3 separate regions of the Homo sapiens genome follow, and regions 1 and 3 are each linked to region 2. Evidence: promoter capture Hi-C in 16 types of primary human blood cells and fetal thymus (Javierre and others, 2016). All regions are on one chromosome and are shown on one strand. Each heading gives the region's core, a stretch centred on a gene start or on the middle of the fragment in contact. The rest is flanking DNA. Distances are from core to core; before and after follow the strand shown.

Region 1 (2,700 bases), core at 160-2,659, 870 kb after region 2:
CAGTGGTGCCATCTCTGCTCACTGCAAGCTCCGCCTCCCGGGTTCACGCCATTCTCCTGCCTCAGCCTCCGGAGTAGCTAGGACTTACAGGCGCCTGCCACCACGCCTGGCTAATTTTTTGTATTTTTAGTAGAGACGGGGTTTCACCGTGTTAGCCAGGATGGTCTCCATCTCCTGACCTCGTGATCCACCCGCCTTGGCCTCCCAAAGCGCTGGGATTACAGGCGTGAGCCACCGTGCCTGGCCTTTTTTTTTTTTTTTTGAGACAGTCTCGCTCTATCACCTAGGCTGGACTGCAGTGGCGTGATCTCTGCTCACTGCAACCTCTGCCTCCTGGGTTCAAGTGATTCTCCTGCCTCAGCCTCCCAAGTAGCTGAGAGTACAGGTGCCCGCCACCACACCCAGCTAATTTTTGTATTTTTAGTAGAGCTGGGGTTTCACCATGTTGGCCAGGATAGTCTTGATCTCTTGACCTCATGATCCGCCTGCCTCGGCCTCCCAAAGTGCTGGGATTACAGGCGTGAGCCACTGTGCCCAGCCCCCCCCCCTTTTTTTTTTAAGCATTTTCTCAGCAGACTAGCTAAGGACAATAGATGGCATGTCCTGACACCCATGGGGCACTCTGGGTGTTGGGGCAGAAACTTGAGAGGGAATGAGCTTCTGCATTGGTCCCTTTCCTGCTGAAGGTGTCTCCCAGTAGTGTCCATCCCATCCCATTTCCATCCCCAGTTCCTCTTACCCGGAAGCTGTTACAGCCCAGTCCGCTCTGGGCTCCAATCCTGTCCATCCTGCCCCCGAAGCAGCTGGATCTCCGCAGGCTCCGAGGGGCAGTGAGCAGCGCCCTCAGCTTGCTTTTTAGGAGGGCAGATCGATCAGAGGAGTCCCAGGGGCCCCGCCCGAGGGCACCTCCATCTCTCTGGGCTGGGCTGACTTCCCCGGTCCAGGGAGGCACCTCAGGGAGGGGGCTGAGAGCAGCCCCCGCTTCTTCATTCGGCTCACTGAGCACTTGTGGGGGCACGACCTCATCTTCTAAAGGCATCTTTTCTTCCAAATGGTCCAGCAAATTCTTTAGAAAAGGAAAATACAGGGAAAGGGATAAACCTCACTGACTTGGAGGAAATCAAGAGGAGTGAGCACAGCATCAGAAAGCCCCCTGGCCCCAGACTGCACCCGCTTTCCTGGCCCTACCTTGAAATCCATCAGGTCTGCGTTGGACACGGCATTGTACATGGGATTAGCTCTGGTCTGACCTAGGAGCTGGAATGCCAGTAAAAGGAGGAAGCTCACGGTGGTGGTGGAGAAGGAGCTCATGCTGGCGTCGTCAAGGAGCAATCCACTGCTTGCTGCTCTGTCTCTCCCCTCTGGTTCCTCTCTGGTTCCCCTCTCTTGGCCTACGTCTGTCCCTGTCTCCCAGCTGCCCAGTGCCGCCTCTTTTTATAGCCCCCCAGCTCTCCAAGCACGCAGGAGAGACAGAACCCTCCCCATTCTGTCACTTGCAGTGATAAAGCTGCCAAGTGAGAAGCCAGCAGGAGATGCCCTTTTAAAGTTATCATCCCGCAGGGCTTGTCACAGCCCCTCTCTGCCTTGGGCAGCCCCAACAGCCCCCCAGACCCTCAGCTGCAAGAGCCGCATTCTTACTGATTTGACTCAAGAGGCTCCCACTTCAAAGGTGTGAGAAGAGTAAAAAAGAGTCCTTGGTTATCTCACCGCCGTGCCTCAGGATTCTTTCTCCTCGACGCTGGTACCCGTGCGGGGAAACAGAGGGTGACGCTTGGCTGGTGCCCAGCTCCCCTGGTTTGTTTGTGGCTCAGCTGTCAGGGCCTCCAAATAAGGGTGGAGAGGAGGAAATGGCAGGCAGCCAGCAGCCCGAGACAAATGGATCCAGATGCTCAAGCTGGCCTCACACCTGCCTCATCCGCCACGTGGGCAGACCTCTGGCCTCAGACAGGGCTGCCTTCACCCCTGGCAGTCCCTCTCCATGGTCAGGCGAAAGGAAGTTATTTTTTAGTATATAAAGTCAGCTGAGAACCAAATGTGATGAAGCTCCCAGGAATCCAACCCCCAAATAGAAATAGCAAGAAAAGGCGGGGGAGCACAAGCATCCTCTCTCCAAAGCTCCTCCTCTTCCATGTCCCCCGCGACCCTCCTCCAGCATGCTGCGGGGACAGGCTTAGAGGACGCAGCCAATTTCATTTCTTCCGTTGCTGTTTATAGATGCTCAGACTCTTCGTGTCTGAAGTTTGTTAACATCCCCCTGCCCTTCCTGGGCTTGTGCCCGTGGCAACTTGACCGATGGAGGAAGGGAGGTGGGGGTGAAGGAGGTATAGTCAGTTTCCCTCAATGCCTTCTACATCCTTCCCTGAGGACGTGGCAAGTGGCAAGTGACCGAGCCACCAAGGTCACAATTTCCCTGGCCCCCAAAAGGGAAATAACAGGCAGCAAGTCTGTCTATGTTTAATGAATGGCCTGTTTGCTAAGCACTGAACTCAGTGTTAGCCATTACCATTCAATGCAACGTATACTGGGGGAAAACTCTAAATTTGAAGGGCTGAGAGACCAGTACTGTAGCCCAAAACAAACCAGTTGCATACCTCTTCGCAGCCTTACTTTCCTTGTGTGTAAAATGAGAAAGAATGTTAAAAACCGGCCGGGTGCAGTGGCTCACACGTATAATCCCAGCACTTTGGGAGGCTAAGGTGG
Region 2 (2,700 bases), core at 138-2,637:
AGACAGCTCTCCCCTCCGTCTGATGCCTGCTCCTGTTCTCCTCCTTGAGCATCAATCGGGAGAAAGATGTGGGTTTGGGTTTTTCCCCCTCACTTCTCAGACCCAGAACTGCCCCATCCCAGTCTGGGGGGAGACATGATGCTCCATCCCCCAAAGCTGAGCCCCCTCATGGGGCATCCAGGAGAAGGCAATGGGTCCCCAGGACAGGGCCCGGACCTCCCCCTTGCTCGCCCAGCCCCACAAAGCCCCACTCAGCTTCTCCACTGCCTTCATTGTCTACAGACTTCAACCTCACAAAACGCCCAACAAAAGCCCTGCAGTCCACGGCCCAAAGGCCACAAGCCAGCTATTGTGACATTCCAGCTGGCCTGGGAGGCTTCACTTCCCACTCTCAGGAGCTTTTTAAAGTATCTCTTAAAAATGCATCTCAGATGGGGAAAAGAGGTAGCAATTCTGTTGCCAAGGAAAATGAGATTTTGGCCAAGTGCAGTGAGTCATGCCCGTAATCCCAATACTTTGGGAGGCCGAGACAGGAGGATGGCTTGAACCCAGGAGTTTAAGACCAGCCTGGGCAACACAGTAAGACCCTGTCTCTACAAAAAAATTAAAAAATTACCAAAGTGTGGTGGCACATGCCTATGGTCCCAGCTACTCAGGAGGCTAAAGTGGGATGATCACTTGAGCCCAGGAGTTAAGAGATGACAGTGAACTATGATCTTGCCACTGCACTCCAGCCTGGGCAACAGAGCAAGACTCTATCTCAGGAAGAAGGAGAGACAGAGAGGGAGAGAGAGAGAGAAAGAGAAAAGAAAGGAAAGGGAAGGAAGGAAGGAGAAAGGAAGGAAGGCAGGGAGGGAAGGAAGGAAGGGAGGGAAGGAAGGAAAATGAAATTTTCTCCTAATCCTTACAATCGAATAGCTAGCGACCACAACTCCTATCATTTGAAAACTCCTTGAAATCAAGCATCTCTTGGTCAACTTGACCCCTAATTTGTTTTGTTTTAAGGACCCTCTAGGACAAGGAAGACGTGTTCTGTTTTCTCCCAATCTTCTGGAAATCCTTCCCAAGATGGGAGGACTGGAATTCCAGAACAAGGGATGACAGGAGCATGAGAAAGGTGGGAGAGACTGTGGCCGGACCTCACCTGAGAAAGTCAGCCCTTCCCAAGGCATCCATGCATCTGGGCCCCTCACCCATTTGGCCCCCTTCCCTCTTAGATGCAAGGCTTCTGATTCTGATGGAAGATATTTGGCTTCTTCAAGGAGTGTGGGCACACTAAGCATGCCACTGGCTTCTCCCAATTCCTGAATAAGGGACACTTACCAGGCAAGTGCTGGGGACCCCCACATCCTCAGGCCCAGCAGCTCTCTCCTGCCCTGGGAGAATTTAATCTGAAGCAGTTCCAAGCAACTAAACGAAAGGTTGGCTCCTCCCCTTCCCCTCCAGTGCAGGTCTCGGGTCACTCAGGTGCCAGAAAACACAGGTGGGTGTCAACACTCTCAGCTTCTCCCCATCCCTCTGCATGGGTGAGATGAATTGCTTCAGCCGTGGGAGCTCAAAATAAGATTGCGGATCAGAAGGCTGAAGATGAATTGATCCACTGAGGCTGGAGTGCAGGCCCTCATTCTCCGCTCCCGGGAGAAGCCTGTCTCTGTGCCCAAGGAAGGAAAGAAGCTAAGAAACTGAGCTTCACCGGAGGAACAGTCACGCTGTCTTGATGGGGCTTCCCAGAACCCTGCTCCAGGCCCCTCCTGGCAGAGTTCAAAAGGAGCTGAGGGGCCAGGCATGGTGGCTCATGCCTGTAACCCCAGCATTTTGGGATGCAGAGATGGGCAGATTGTTTGAGGTCAGGAGTTCGAAACAAGCCAGGGGAACATGGCAAGACCCTGTCTCTACAAAAAATTTAAAAACTAGCTGGGCATGGTGGCACACACCTGTGGTCCTAGCTACTCAGGAGGCTGAGGTGAGAGGATTGCTTGAGCCCAGGAGGTTGAGGCTGCAGTGAGCCCTGATTGTGCTACTGCACTCCAGCCTGGGCAACAGAACAAGACCCTGTCTAAAAAAAAAAAAAAAAGGGGCCGGGCACAGTCACTCATGCCCATAATCCCAGTGATTTGGGAGGGCGAGGCAGGCTGATCACCTGATGTCAGGACTTCGAGACCAGCCTGGCCAACATGGTGAAACCTTATCTCTACTAAAAATACAAAACTAGCCAGGTGTGGGGGTGCACGCCTGTAATCCCAGCTACTTGGGAAGTTAAGGCAGGAGAATTGCTTGAACCCGGGAGATGGAGGTTGCAGTGAGCCAAGATCGTACCATTGTACTGCAGCCTGGGTGACAAGAGCAAAACTCCGTCTAAAAAAAAAAAAAAAAAAAAAAAAAAAAAAAAAAAAAAAAAAAAAGACCAGGCGCAGTGACTCACGCCTGTAATCCTAGCACTTTGGGAGGCTGAGGTGGGTGGATCATCAGGTCAGGAGTTTGAGACCAGCCTGGCCAACATGGTGAAACCCTGTCTCTACCAAAAATACAAAAAATAGCCGGGCTTGGTGGTGGGCACCTGTAATCCCAGCTACTCTGGAGGCTGAGGCAGGAGAATCGCTTGAACCTGGAAGGCAGAGATTGCAGACAGCTGAGATCGTGCCATTGCACTCCAGCCTGGGCGATACAATAAGACTCCGTCTCAAAAAAAAAAAAAAAAAG
Region 3 (2,700 bases), core at 6-2,505, 640 kb after region 2:
CTGACTTGCCCAAGGCCACACCCTGCTCCCCTCCCCACTAGACTTAAGCAGCCTGCCCCACAGCCTCCGGTCCCCATCCCAAGCCAGCACGCACATCTCTTCCCCAAATCTCATCCCCAACAACAGCATGGAGTGAGACCTCCTGCCAGTGTCCCAGGAAGAGCTCTCAGCTCCGAGATGCTCTGCCAGCTGGCAGGGCCAGGTCCCCATAGAGGCCACCTGCTACGTGAGAACACAGGGCAGTCACCACCAGGAGGCTCTTGGGCCAGTCTGGCTCAGCAGCTACTGTCTCTTGCCAACTGTATGCAGGACACACCCTGTTAGCTTTAGGCTAGCAGAGCCAACAAGCCCAGATGCCTCAAAGAGCCAGTTCGTTCATTGTCCCTTTCAAGGGACCAGATTTCTTAGGCCGTAGTTCCCAAGCACCAGGTTGTGAACCAGCTACAACGGAATCACTCCTCAAAAATAATAGCTTCCAGGGTCCTGCTCCGAAGAGAGTGTGATCCAACTGGTCCTGGGGAGGGTCTAGGAATCTGTATTTTAACAGCCCTGTTCCCACCCACATCATCCTGGCAAGCAGGCTTCGGAACCTCTCTTTGCTCAGAGCAAGCACTTCACTCACAGAGGGTCAAACTTGGAGGCAGTTTAAAGACCTTCTAGTCTAGCCCACCCATTGTCCAGACAGGAACACTGAGGCTTAGGGGGCTTGTCCTGGGTCACAGAGTGACTCAGTGACAGTGCTATGACCCAAACCCCAGTGTCCCAACTCCTAGACCAGGAAGCTTGCCCTTCTGTTAAGACATTTTGGGAAGATGGCAAGAAAGTCCTTCCAGCTCAGGGCAGGAAGTCGTCCTTGGCACAGAGCAAGACCTTTGTGGAAAATTGGTGGATAGGAATGAAGAACATTGAATTGGGGGCAGATACTGCCTGTTTCTGCCTGTCTCTCCCCCATTCCATGAGGTCCTGGTAGGGCTTAGTCACAATGCTCTACAAAACATAGTCACGGGAACACACACACACTCATGCACATACAGACACACACAGACATACACACACACACACTTCGTGGGTGTGAGATCAGGCCAGGCTGCCCAGAATTCTAATCCCCCTGATCACACTGATTGGCTCAAGAATGAACACCATGGGTTGGGTGTGGTGGCTCACGCCTGTAATCCCAGAACTTTGGGAGGCCGAGACAGATGGATCATCTGAGGTCGGAAGTTTGAGACCAGCCTGGCCAATATGGTGAAACCCCGTCTCTACTAAAAATACAAAAATTAGCTTGGCATGGTAGCACGTGGCTGTAATCCCAGCTGCTCAGGAGGCTGAGGCAGGAGAATCGCTTGAACCCGGGGAGGCGGAGGTTGCAGTGAGCTAAGATCATACCACTGCAATCCACCCTGGGCGACAGAGCAAGACTCTGTTTCAAAAAAAAAAAAAAAAACACCTGACCCAAGAAGATCAATCAGAGATTTGACACCTGAACCCAGCAAGGAAGATCTCTCTTCCTTTTGGGTAATGAGTTATAGGGGTTCGGGGCTACCATTGGCCTTCTTCCCTAACACGTGGAGAAAGGCTTTGTGAGAACACCTGAAGGGACGCAGACTCCAGATACGCAAAACAGATGATGTCCTGACAATAGCATTTGGGCTCCTGGATCTAGCCTTTCCTGAAACTGGGAAACCCTGAGCACCCAGTTATGTGAGCCAATAAACTCACTTTTTGACTTAAGCTTGTTTAAGGTGGGGTTTTTGTCACTTGCAACCAAAACAGTGCTGACTAGGGTCCTGGGACACACCTGTTTGGGGGCAGAAAGTGGGAAGCAGAACATTTCATTGCCCTCAGCCCCTGTGACGGTCTAGGGAGGCCCTTGTCCATAAGGAAGGCATGGGATCTCGGGAGAAGCCACCTGAAGATCACAGGGGCATGTCCTGGACCGAGAGTCAAAACACCTGGGCTCTTTCACTCCCAAGCTGCGTGACCTTCGACCAGTCAACCAACCCCTCCTTTATCAAGCATGCCTTTTATTTTCTGTGTTCTGATACTTTGACATCTGGGGCTTTGTGACCCTGGAGGGTTAAGAGCTGGTAAATTCTTAGAGATAGTAACCAACTTGCCCATGAGCCCATTTGCTTTGAAAATGCAAACCAACCAATCCAGAGTCTATACCAGCAACTACCTCCTTTATTGGCTCTCACACTTTGGACCACTATCCACCTGCCCTGATCACTCCAGGGTCATCTACCAGACAACTAGGGGCAGCCCTTGTGGCCCAGAATGCACTGAAATTATTCAAACTAGCCAACCCTAAGCCGGCTTGCTCTGCCTCATTCGTTCCTTCTCATGGATACCACAATAAATGTTCTTGCCCACGATTTCCCCCTCCCTCTACCTCCTGACTGCCCCTATGTGCCCCCTCATGGCTGGACAAGCCCGCTCCTCTTGGGATCTGTGAGTGTAATAATCTGTCTTTTTTTTTTTTTTTTTTTTTTTGAGGCGGAGTTTTGCTCCTGTCACCCAGGCTGGAGTGCAATGGCGCAATCTCGGCTCACTGCAACCTCCGCCTCCCAGGTTCAAGCGATTCTCCTGCCCCAGCCTCCCAAGTAGCTGGGATTACAGGAGCCCGCCACCATGCCCAGCTAATTTTTGTATTTTTAGTAGGGACGGGGTTTCACCATGTTGGCTAGGCTGCTCTTGAAC

The links. The method cuts DNA at HindIII sites, captures the fragments that hold promoters and counts their contacts. A CHiCAGO score of 5 or more calls a contact.
Region 1: the fragment with the promoter of NPPA here is called in contact with the fragment with the promoter of CIROZ in region 2 in 4 of 17 cell types (naive B cells, non-activated CD4 T cells, total B cells and 1 more); the score reaches 8.2 in naive B cells.
Region 3: a contact is called between a fragment that was not itself captured here and the fragment with the promoter of CIROZ in region 2, in 2 of 17 cell types (M2 macrophages and endothelial precursors). The highest score is 5.1, in M2 macrophages.

What each region holds. Positions count from the first base shown.
Region 1 is chr1:11,846,374-11,849,073 of GRCh38, forward strand. It overlaps NPPA (natriuretic peptide A), which reads right to left and starts at 1,410. Exons shown (of 3, transcript NM_006172.4): 1 at 1,189-1,410; 2 at 740-1,066. The coding sequence starts at 1,311. It also overlaps NPPA-AS1. RefSeq lists an enhancer at 446-2,236. The HindIII fragment of the contact is 12,440 bases long and covers 1-2,700 here.
Region 2 is chr1:10,980,689-10,983,388 of GRCh38, forward strand. It overlaps CIROZ (ciliated left-right organizer protein containing ZP-N domains), which reads right to left and starts at 1,388. Exons shown (of 13, transcript NM_001170754.2): 1 at 1,324-1,388. The coding sequence starts at 1,349. The HindIII fragment of the contact is 7,392 bases long and covers 1-2,700 here.
Region 3 is chr1:11,617,247-11,619,946 of GRCh38, forward strand. No RefSeq gene overlaps it. Among named protein-coding and RNA genes, the nearest start is that of LINC01647, 9.1 kb to the left of the region's middle. The HindIII fragment of the contact is 950 bases long and covers 781-1,730 here.